Linked DNA regions of Homo sapiens: region 1 is linked to region 2. The links are contacts of gene promoters, found by promoter capture Hi-C in blood cells and fetal thymus (Javierre and others, 2016). All regions are on one chromosome and are shown on one strand. The core of a region is centred on a gene start or on the middle of the fragment in contact, and the rest is flanking DNA. Distances in the headings are between cores, read along the strand shown.

Region 1 (4,192 bases), core at 863-3,362, 260 kb after region 2:
GTTAGTTGAAAGCATATAAATGGGTAAGACTCTTCGGGATAAGTGAAGAATTGGAGACAGGGAAACAGTCCAGCTGGACTCGCAGATTTAGAGATGGGCAGTGGCATGGGGGAGCAGGATAAGAAAAGTCGGCGAGGTAAGAAGAAAAACAGGGCGACATTTTGAAAGCCAAGGGAGCAAGTTTGAAGGCCGCCTCCTGGAGGTCAAGAGGAGGATGACAAATCTATTCTAGCCTCGGTCAAACCGGATTCCGAGGAGTGCAGGCGGGTGGGGGTGGGGCGGAGACACGCCGCTGCGGGCGACTTAAGTTTAGGGGCGAGAAAGGAGGCAGCCTTAGTAGTACATGTATTTTTAAAGGGAATTTGGCTGTGACGAGACAGAAAGGGCGGGACTTGGCAGTTTAGAGCTCAAGGGGATCATCGGCTTCAGAATCCCCTACTCTTTCGTGAGAGTAACTCTCCGTCTAAGGATGTCTTCTGCAGTTCCTTAGGGTCCATATTGGGATTTCCCGGCTGTAAACTAAACAAAGCAAAGCAAAACAAAACAAAAACCCACAGTGCCTCTCAGTAAAACAAAACCAGTATTTTGTTTGAAAGCCTGCTCTCTTTAAAGATCCTGGCATGCAAATAAGGGGCTTTAATGTGGCTCTCAGCGATTGGTAGATACTTACAAAATCCGTCATTTCCTTTCAGTGCAGGACGCAAACCAAGAGGCGGCTTTCTGCTTTTCTATTGGCTGTTAGATACGGCTCCGCTTTTAGCCAATCAAACGACTTCCCTTCACCCCTCCCGGTAGCTCTTATAAATTACATCAAATTGGTTATTCTTTCCACATTCTTCTCCTTGTAAAAGAAGCTGTAACTGCAATTTTAGCCGTAATGTCAGGACGCGGAAAGCAGGGAGGCAAGGCCCGCGCTAAGGCCAAGTCGCGCTCGTCCCGCGCTGGTCTCCAGTTCCCGGTGGGGCGAGTGCACCGCTTGCTGCGCAAAGGCAACTACGCGGAGCGGGTCGGGGCAGGCGCCCCGGTGTACCTGGCGGCGGTCCTCGAGTACCTGACCGCGGAAATTCTGGAGCTGGCGGGCAACGCGGCTCGGGACAACAAGAAGACGCGCATCATCCCTCGCCATCTGCAACTAGCCGTGAGGAATGACGAAGAGCTCAACAAGTTACTCGGGGGTGTCACCATTGCCCAGGGCGGCGTCTTGCCCAATATCCAGGCTGTCCTGTTGCCCAAGAAAACGGAGAGTCACAAGCCTGGCAAGAACAAGTAATTAAGAGGCTTGACACCATACTCATTCACCCCAAAGGCTCTTTTAAGAGCCACCAAAGTGTCAAATGAAGGGCTGATCACGAAATAGCGCATTAGCTCTTTTTTTGAAAACTTGGGTGGCTCTAAAAAGAGCCTTTGGTCTTGGTTTGTTTGTCTGCATTTATTTGCTTTTGGCTTTGTGGCTTTCGGTTTTCTTTGGTAACAGAACGGCCTGGATGTTAGGCAAAACGCCGCCCTGGGCGATGGTGACTTTGCCCAGCAGCTTGTTCAGTTCCTCGTCGTTGCGGATGGCCAGCTGGAGGTGACGAGGGATGATGCGCGTCTTCTTGTTGTCCCGAGCCGCGTTGCCCGCCAGCTCCAGGATCTCGGCGGTCAGGTACTCGAGGACCGCCGCCATGTAGACGGGCGCGCCGGCCCCCACCCGCTCCGCGTAGTTGCCTTTGCGCAGCAAGCGGTGCACTCGCCCTACCGGGAACTGGAGGCCAGCGCGGGACGAGCGCGACTTGGCCTTGGCGCGGGCCTTGCCTCCTTGTTTGCCACGACCAGACATGACTGAAATCAAGGTTAAACACAGACAACGCTCAGAACCTCGCAACAAAATAAGATTGAAAGAGAACCAAGAGGAAAGCCTTTATAAGCTTTCCTAGGGGTGGGGTCAAGAACGAGTTTTTCATTGGTCCTAATATGGCTTCAGAACCGGCCAATCAAGTCAAGAGTCGGTGTTGTTACGTACGCATTGCTGAAAACGCAAGGTCCGCACACGGACCAATGGAAATGAACGACTTTCGGAGCCCTAATTTGCATAAGGTGGTTATAAAAGAATCAGGCCCGCCCATTCTCTTACTTCTTTTCTTGGCTAAGCCGCGTTTGTACTGTGTCTTACCATGCCTGAACCGGCAAAATCCGCTCCGGCCCCTAAAAAGGGCTCCAAGAAAGCCGTCACCAAAGCCCAGAAGAAAGACGGCAAGAAGCGCAAGCGCAGCCGCAAAGAGAGCTACTCCATCTACGTGTACAAGGTGCTGAAGCAGGTCCACCCCGACACCGGCATCTCGTCCAAGGCCATGGGCATCATGAACTCCTTCGTCAACGACATCTTCGAGCGCATCGCGGGAGAGGCTTCCCGCCTGGCGCACTACAACAAGCGCTCCACCATCACATCCCGCGAGATCCAGACGGCCGTGCGCCTGCTGCTGCCCGGCGAGCTGGCCAAGCACGCCGTGTCCGAGGGCACCAAGGCGGTCACCAAGTACACCAGCTCCAAGTGAGTCCCTGCCGGGACCTGGCGCTCGCTCGCTCGAGTCGCCGGCTGCTTGACTCCAAAGGCTCTTTTCAGAGCCACCCACCTAATCACTAGAAAAGAGCTTGTTCACTTATTCCCTTAGTTTCTTTTCATAAAGTAAGTTATTTTAGTGTGAAGGTCATGGGAAATGGCATACGTAGCTTTTTAACTATTTGGAACTCGAGGTCCCCAGTGCGTCATTGGATTTGCTTTTGAATCTAGAGCGTGTCTTTACTCATTGTGCTGCTTAGCCTTCCCAGGAGTCGGTTCTCAATTAGGCTGTTGGGAATCCGCCTCTTTACCCGCCCCCACTCCCGCCCCACACGCGCCCTGGTGGCTCCTTGGGTCTGTTTCATTCTAAAACGAAGTGGCTGAGTTCGGCTGTCATTTAAGAGAACTCCAGGACACAATTCAGCCCGGGTTCCGCAAACACTGCGTGACAGCTCTGTATGACTGACGCTTGGCAGCAGCTTTTGTGTCCGGTCACCAGTTCTGCCGTGCGATGGGGCCTCCTGTGGATACCAGCCGTTCTGTGTATTTTGGACGAAGGCCGCGCAGCCGGGTCCCAGCCTTGTCCTGATTGGGCGACAAGAATATTCAAAATTCTGCGCCTTTTTCTAATTTGTAGATTTCAGTTTCCGTCGTTCACTTTGAGACTTTGAAATTCCTATTTCTCATTTTGTTGATAATTTCTGCATTTAATGGTCTGTGCTTTAAATGGTAACGCTACGGCCCCAGGTCACTGCGAGGCACTTACCATGTAGATACGGGCTCAAAAGTCACCTCTCAGAGACCTACGTCATCCACTCAGGAATTCGCGCCTCTCATACTTGCCTGTCTCATTTTATCTTCCTTCTAGCAGCTGTCTGAAATTGGTTCGTCTGTTTTCTTGTTTATGGTATTCTCAAGCCCTTGACAGACCGGCTAGTGTGGTTTTCCCGTGCATCTTCAGCCTGGCACATTATGGACACTTAAATACTACGTATTGATCTAATATTGTTGGGTTAATTTTTCCATCCCACCCTTTTCTTAATCGCTTCCGTGGATGGATGAAGGGTGCTGTTCATTTCCATTAGATGTATGTGAAGGCACAGTGAAAATGGAAATGTTCTTGGAGCTACTTCCTCAAAATGTATCCTTAGTCACCTCAGTGCAACAGCTGGGAGGGGGCCGTGTTAAGATTTTTTTTGCTACAAAGAGGAGGTGGCAATGGTAGATCCACCCTTATGCTTCTCAGTTTAGCATAACCTCTTATGGATTTTCATCAAATTCAGCGTGTTGGTCACTGGAAAGAGCCTTTTCCTTCTCCTTTTCTTACTCTCCCCTCATGGTGTTCCCCTCTTAAAGGAGAGGAGCTTTTAATTTACACTTACCACCTCATTTGCTTTTCTGGAGGCCATGCAATATAGGCGGGACTACAGAGTTAATCTCCTTTTTACAAATGAGGCCAAGAGAAGCCTCATTGGTTCACAGTCATGCAGCTCATACTGTCCACCCTTGTATTCTCAGATGCAGGACAATTGCATTTTAGTTTTATTTTGTGGAGGTGCAGAATATTTACTCTTTCTGTCCAACCCTTGATTCTGCCGAGGAAGACACTGATGGTTTGATGAGTGATTCAGCTGTTTTTGGCTAAGGGCTTTT
Region 2 (3,844 bases), core at 1,173-3,672:
GACCAAGAAAAGTGCCCTCACCTCACTCCTAAGACTTTCCATCACCAACTTGCTAGTTTTGTGTAAACAGCTAGGTTTCAATACCCTTAAGAGGGATCTCTTTGGCTGTGGCACAGCTTAGTTCTTCCCTAGATGCCTCAGTAGATGTTCTTTTAGATGAGTACTTTGTCTCAGGGTGTGTGTGTGTATGTTTCAATACCATAAAAGGTTTTATTTACCTAAATATAATCTACTGAATAAGGATGTCTACTGCAGAAAGCAGAAGAGGTTAGAACTCAGGGAGGACTTCCCAGTTAGCCCTGGGTGAGGGAACACAGAATACCTCCCGTGAGGGCGGGAGGAAGGGCCACTCTAACCGGTACACAGGACAGTCTTCCAGGCTATACTGACTGCCTTTGGACAGTCACAGAGGCAGGGAATGGAATGACTTCTAACCACTGTAGGGGCAATTCTGATTTCTCCACATTAGTACACGTTATTGATCCCAAGACTTAGGGAAAAAAGGGAGATGGGTCTGGATTCAATTATCATAGCTCAGGTCTTGACACAGTGTAGACTGTGGTTTTCATGGTTAACTACACAGCCAAAGCTATCCAAAGACATACAGGGGTTCTTAACTCCATTTCTCTCCCTTCTGATACAAATGGAGGGGTGGGCAGGAAGTGGGTAGAAAATGGGTTCCTTGCCTTTTTTAAATGGGGTGGGGGTGGGGAACAGAGAGCATACTGGTTAGGGACACTGGCTTCAACGAAAATAACTGCCACTCACACACCCGAGGTCACAGGGGCCTGACGGCGGGGTGCGTGTTTTCTGTGATTCAGGGCGGATGCGCCACGGACAGGACCTGTGCACGCTCCTGCCACAGACAGGAAAGGGGAGGCTGGCTGGGTTAAGGTGGGGGGACAGGAAGGGGTGGCGAATAGGCTAAACTGTTTCAGCAGAAATAGAAAAGAAATCCTATATGCAGGAGGCCAGGTTAGGGTGGGAGGCAGCAAGGGACACTTAGAACTTCTGGGGCATCTTGGGAGGGGCTTATCGTTGTTAGAAAGGTATTTGCAAACAAAAAAACACTGAGTAAGCGGCCAACTCAACTTCTAATTCTCACTCTGGTCTTCTCATTAAAGGGTGGCCTTTCTCTGCAGATGAGATGGGGGTAGAGAGGAGACCACTGAACTTGCCTTTGGAACAAAACGGGGGTGGAGTAAGCTAGGCGAGCCCTTGGGGAGTGACAAAGTGGGGGCTATGAGAAAACGGAGAGTTAGAGGCAAGAGGCACCCACCTCCTTCTCAGAGATGTAGAGCTGGTCCCCTTTCAGCACCACATAGCGGTTTTTCCAAATCTCCCTGAAAATCCCTTTCCCGCAGAATTTCCGGACCCAGCCGACCTTCTCGGGCGGTGCAGGCTGCTGGTTTCCATCCTGAGGTCCCTGCCCCAGGACAAGATGAGAAGCGGGCGGTTAGGAGATTCCAGCCGGCGCTTCCTCTCCGTCCGTCTCTCACGACCGCCTCGGCGGCCCAGTCTCCTCCGAAGGCTGCGGCCGGGGGGCGGGGGGCCGCCCCAGGTTCGCTCCCACTTCGGAAAGGTTTTCACTCCGAGGAACTCCCCCCGCTCCCCTCCCCCGCTCCCGAATAAACAACCGGGGCTGCAAGTGGCAGGGGCGCCGGCCGGGCGCGGAGAGGCTCCCAGGTTCCCTCCAGGCCCTGCGCCCCCGCCGCCCCGTCCTCGCCGCGCGGGGACTAACGGCGTTTCTCTGGTTTTCTCTCCCATTGTCTCCTCGCCACGGCGGAGCGCGAGGCAAACGCTCGCCCGGCGCCCGGGGGCGGGGGAGGTGCGGGTCGTGGGGAAACTCAGCCAAGTTGAAGCCCCCCGAGGCGAGTAAACAAACAAAAGCCCCCGCGGGCGCCTGGCGGGGCCGAGGCCGAGGGGACCGGGCCGCCGGGGCGGGGGCGCGGCCGGGCCGTGGGTCTCCCAGGCCGCCGCGGCGCCGACGGAGCGGGGGTCGTCAGAGCGCGGAGGCGGCGGCGGCCGCAGGGCGGGCAAGCGCACTCACCCGCTTGGCGGAATTGTTCTTCTTCATCATTCCCAGCGGGCGCGGGCGCGGGGCGGCGAGCCGAGGGGCGGCCCCGCGTCGGGGCCTCGGCGGCACCGCGGGGGCTCCTTCCCCGCGGGAGGGCGTCGGAGCTGCCCCGGCGCCGCCGCTCCTCCCTCGCGCCCTCCCGCTCCCGGACTCTCCCCTTCTTTGTAGCTCCGGTTTCACTCAAGGCCGGCCTCCCTCGCATTCGCACTCGCACACACACGCACGCCCGCTCCCCGCCCCTTGGCGCCCTCCATCCCGGCGCCCACGCGGCCCGGGTCCCCGAGCGCACCCCCGCCACCCGCCCGCCCGGCCCAGCGCGGCCGCTCCCCCGGCCCGGTGCGCTGTGGGCGGCCCAGTCCGCACCCCGCAGCTCCATCCGCGGGCCGCTGACGTTGCGAGTTCAGAATAAAGGGCGAATCGCGGAGCCGCAGCTCGGGCGCTCCCCCCGCCCCCCCGCCTTTGTTTCTGACTCACGGAGGGGGAAGAAGGCGGCTTCGAAGCGGCTGGAGACCGCTCCCCAGGGGGCAGGGACCCTCGCTCCGGCGGCGGCTCGGGCGACACGCGGAGCCCGAGAGACCCGGCCGCCGGCCGCCCCGGGGCCCAGTGGGCGGGCGCGGTGGATAATGGAGAGACGTGCGGATTCGTGAAGACTGGAGATCGCCAGCCTCTACAGCATCGCCTTACCCGACCAAAAACAAAAACGAGAGCGGGAACCGGGAGGGCGCGCCACCCACAACCCGCATCAGGAATTCACGCTCCTAGGTGCTAGGGTGGCCTGGGCAGGTCAGATGCTGGGGGAAAGTTTTATGCTCCGGAGGGGATCGACGTGTTGGGGGATGGGGTGGGACAGAAGTTGCTATTAATACACGTTTCTTCCAGCGTACAATGCCTCAGGCCTTATTGTAGCTTCAGGAGAATAATCCTAAGGATGAGGCGGATTTTATGATCTCCATCTCACAGGGAGAAAACGGAGACTCAGAATAGCTGAGGGATTTGCAGACACAGTGTCGATGCTGGCTTTTCAGACACAGTGTCAATGCTGGCAGGAATAGAACTCTGTCTCCAAACCATTATCCTTTCTACCAAGTGGCTTTCAATATAAGTTCCAGGTGAGGCTTAAACTTCCTGCCACCTGGGTATCTTTTCCCGCTATACTGATAGGTAAAAACCCCACCCTCTCTACAGCGCTGGAGCCCAGTGGAGGGAAGGGCTGAACGCCCAGAGAATGCCCTGACTAGAGAAGCCTCTGCTGATCCCTCCTACAGCAGATCTGCCTCAGAGCCTCCAGGACACATCTTAGTAACTTCATGTCTTTTTAATATATATACGTGTGATGGAAAAGGGGAGTGAGAAACCCCGCGCTTGGGTACTGGTTTCATCACCACTCTGGGCTTTGGTCAAGTCACTGAATTTCTTTAGGCCCGCGTCCCTCCACGTATTAAGTGGTGAGGGATGAACTGCCATTTTTATCAACAAGGAAAGCTAGGGGAAGATATGAGATGACCTCTGAGAGTCCTTTGAAGATATGTGTTGTCTTCCAGGGCTAATTTTGAAATCATAATAAGCTAATAAACACATTGCCTGGCATATGGCAAGCATGCAGTAACCACAAAATGAATAAAAATCCCTGGCACTGAGGAGCAGGGAAAAGGAAAAATCATTTTTCCAGAGATGTCTCAAGATAAAAGTGTTGGCTAGATTTGTGGTTTGAATAGTGGAGGCTCTTTTGACTTTTTCTGGTGTCTGTCAAATGAAGGAGGGGCTCCC

What was found. Contacts are between HindIII fragments. The CHiCAGO score rates a contact against its expected background, and 5 or more counts as called.
Region 1: a contact is called between the fragment with the promoter of H2BC21 here and the fragment with the promoter of PLEKHO1 in region 2, in 3 of 17 cell types (M2 macrophages, M0 macrophages and M1 macrophages). The highest score is 10.7, in M2 macrophages.

What each region holds. Positions count from the first base shown.
Region 1 is chr1:149,884,602-149,888,793 of GRCh38, reverse strand. It overlaps H2BC21 (H2B clustered histone 21), which reads left to right and starts at 2,112. Exons shown (of 1, transcript NM_003528.3): 1 at 2,112-4,192. The coding sequence starts at 2,154. The coding sequence ends at 2,534. H2AC20 (H2A clustered histone 20) reads right to left here and starts at 1,876. Exons shown (of 1, transcript NM_003517.3): 1 at 1,383-1,876. The coding sequence starts at 1,819. The coding sequence ends at 1,430. It overlaps H2AC21 (H2A clustered histone 21), which reads left to right and starts at 829. Exons shown (of 1, transcript NM_175065.3): 1 at 829-1,325. The coding sequence starts at 878. The coding sequence ends at 1,270. RefSeq lists enhancers at 759-1,048, 1,069-1,208, 1,619-1,678, 1,809-1,878, 2,199-2,488 and 6 more. The HindIII fragment of the contact is 10,069 bases long and covers 1,910-4,192 here.
Region 2 is chr1:150,148,494-150,152,337 of GRCh38, reverse strand. It overlaps PLEKHO1 (pleckstrin homology domain containing O1), which reads right to left and starts at 2,422. Exons shown (of 6, transcript NM_016274.6): 1 at 2,051-2,422; 2 at 1,280-1,426. The coding sequence starts at 2,080. RefSeq lists silencers at 2,115-2,194, 2,335-2,794 and an enhancer at 1,982-2,482. The HindIII fragment of the contact is 16,730 bases long and covers 1-3,844 here.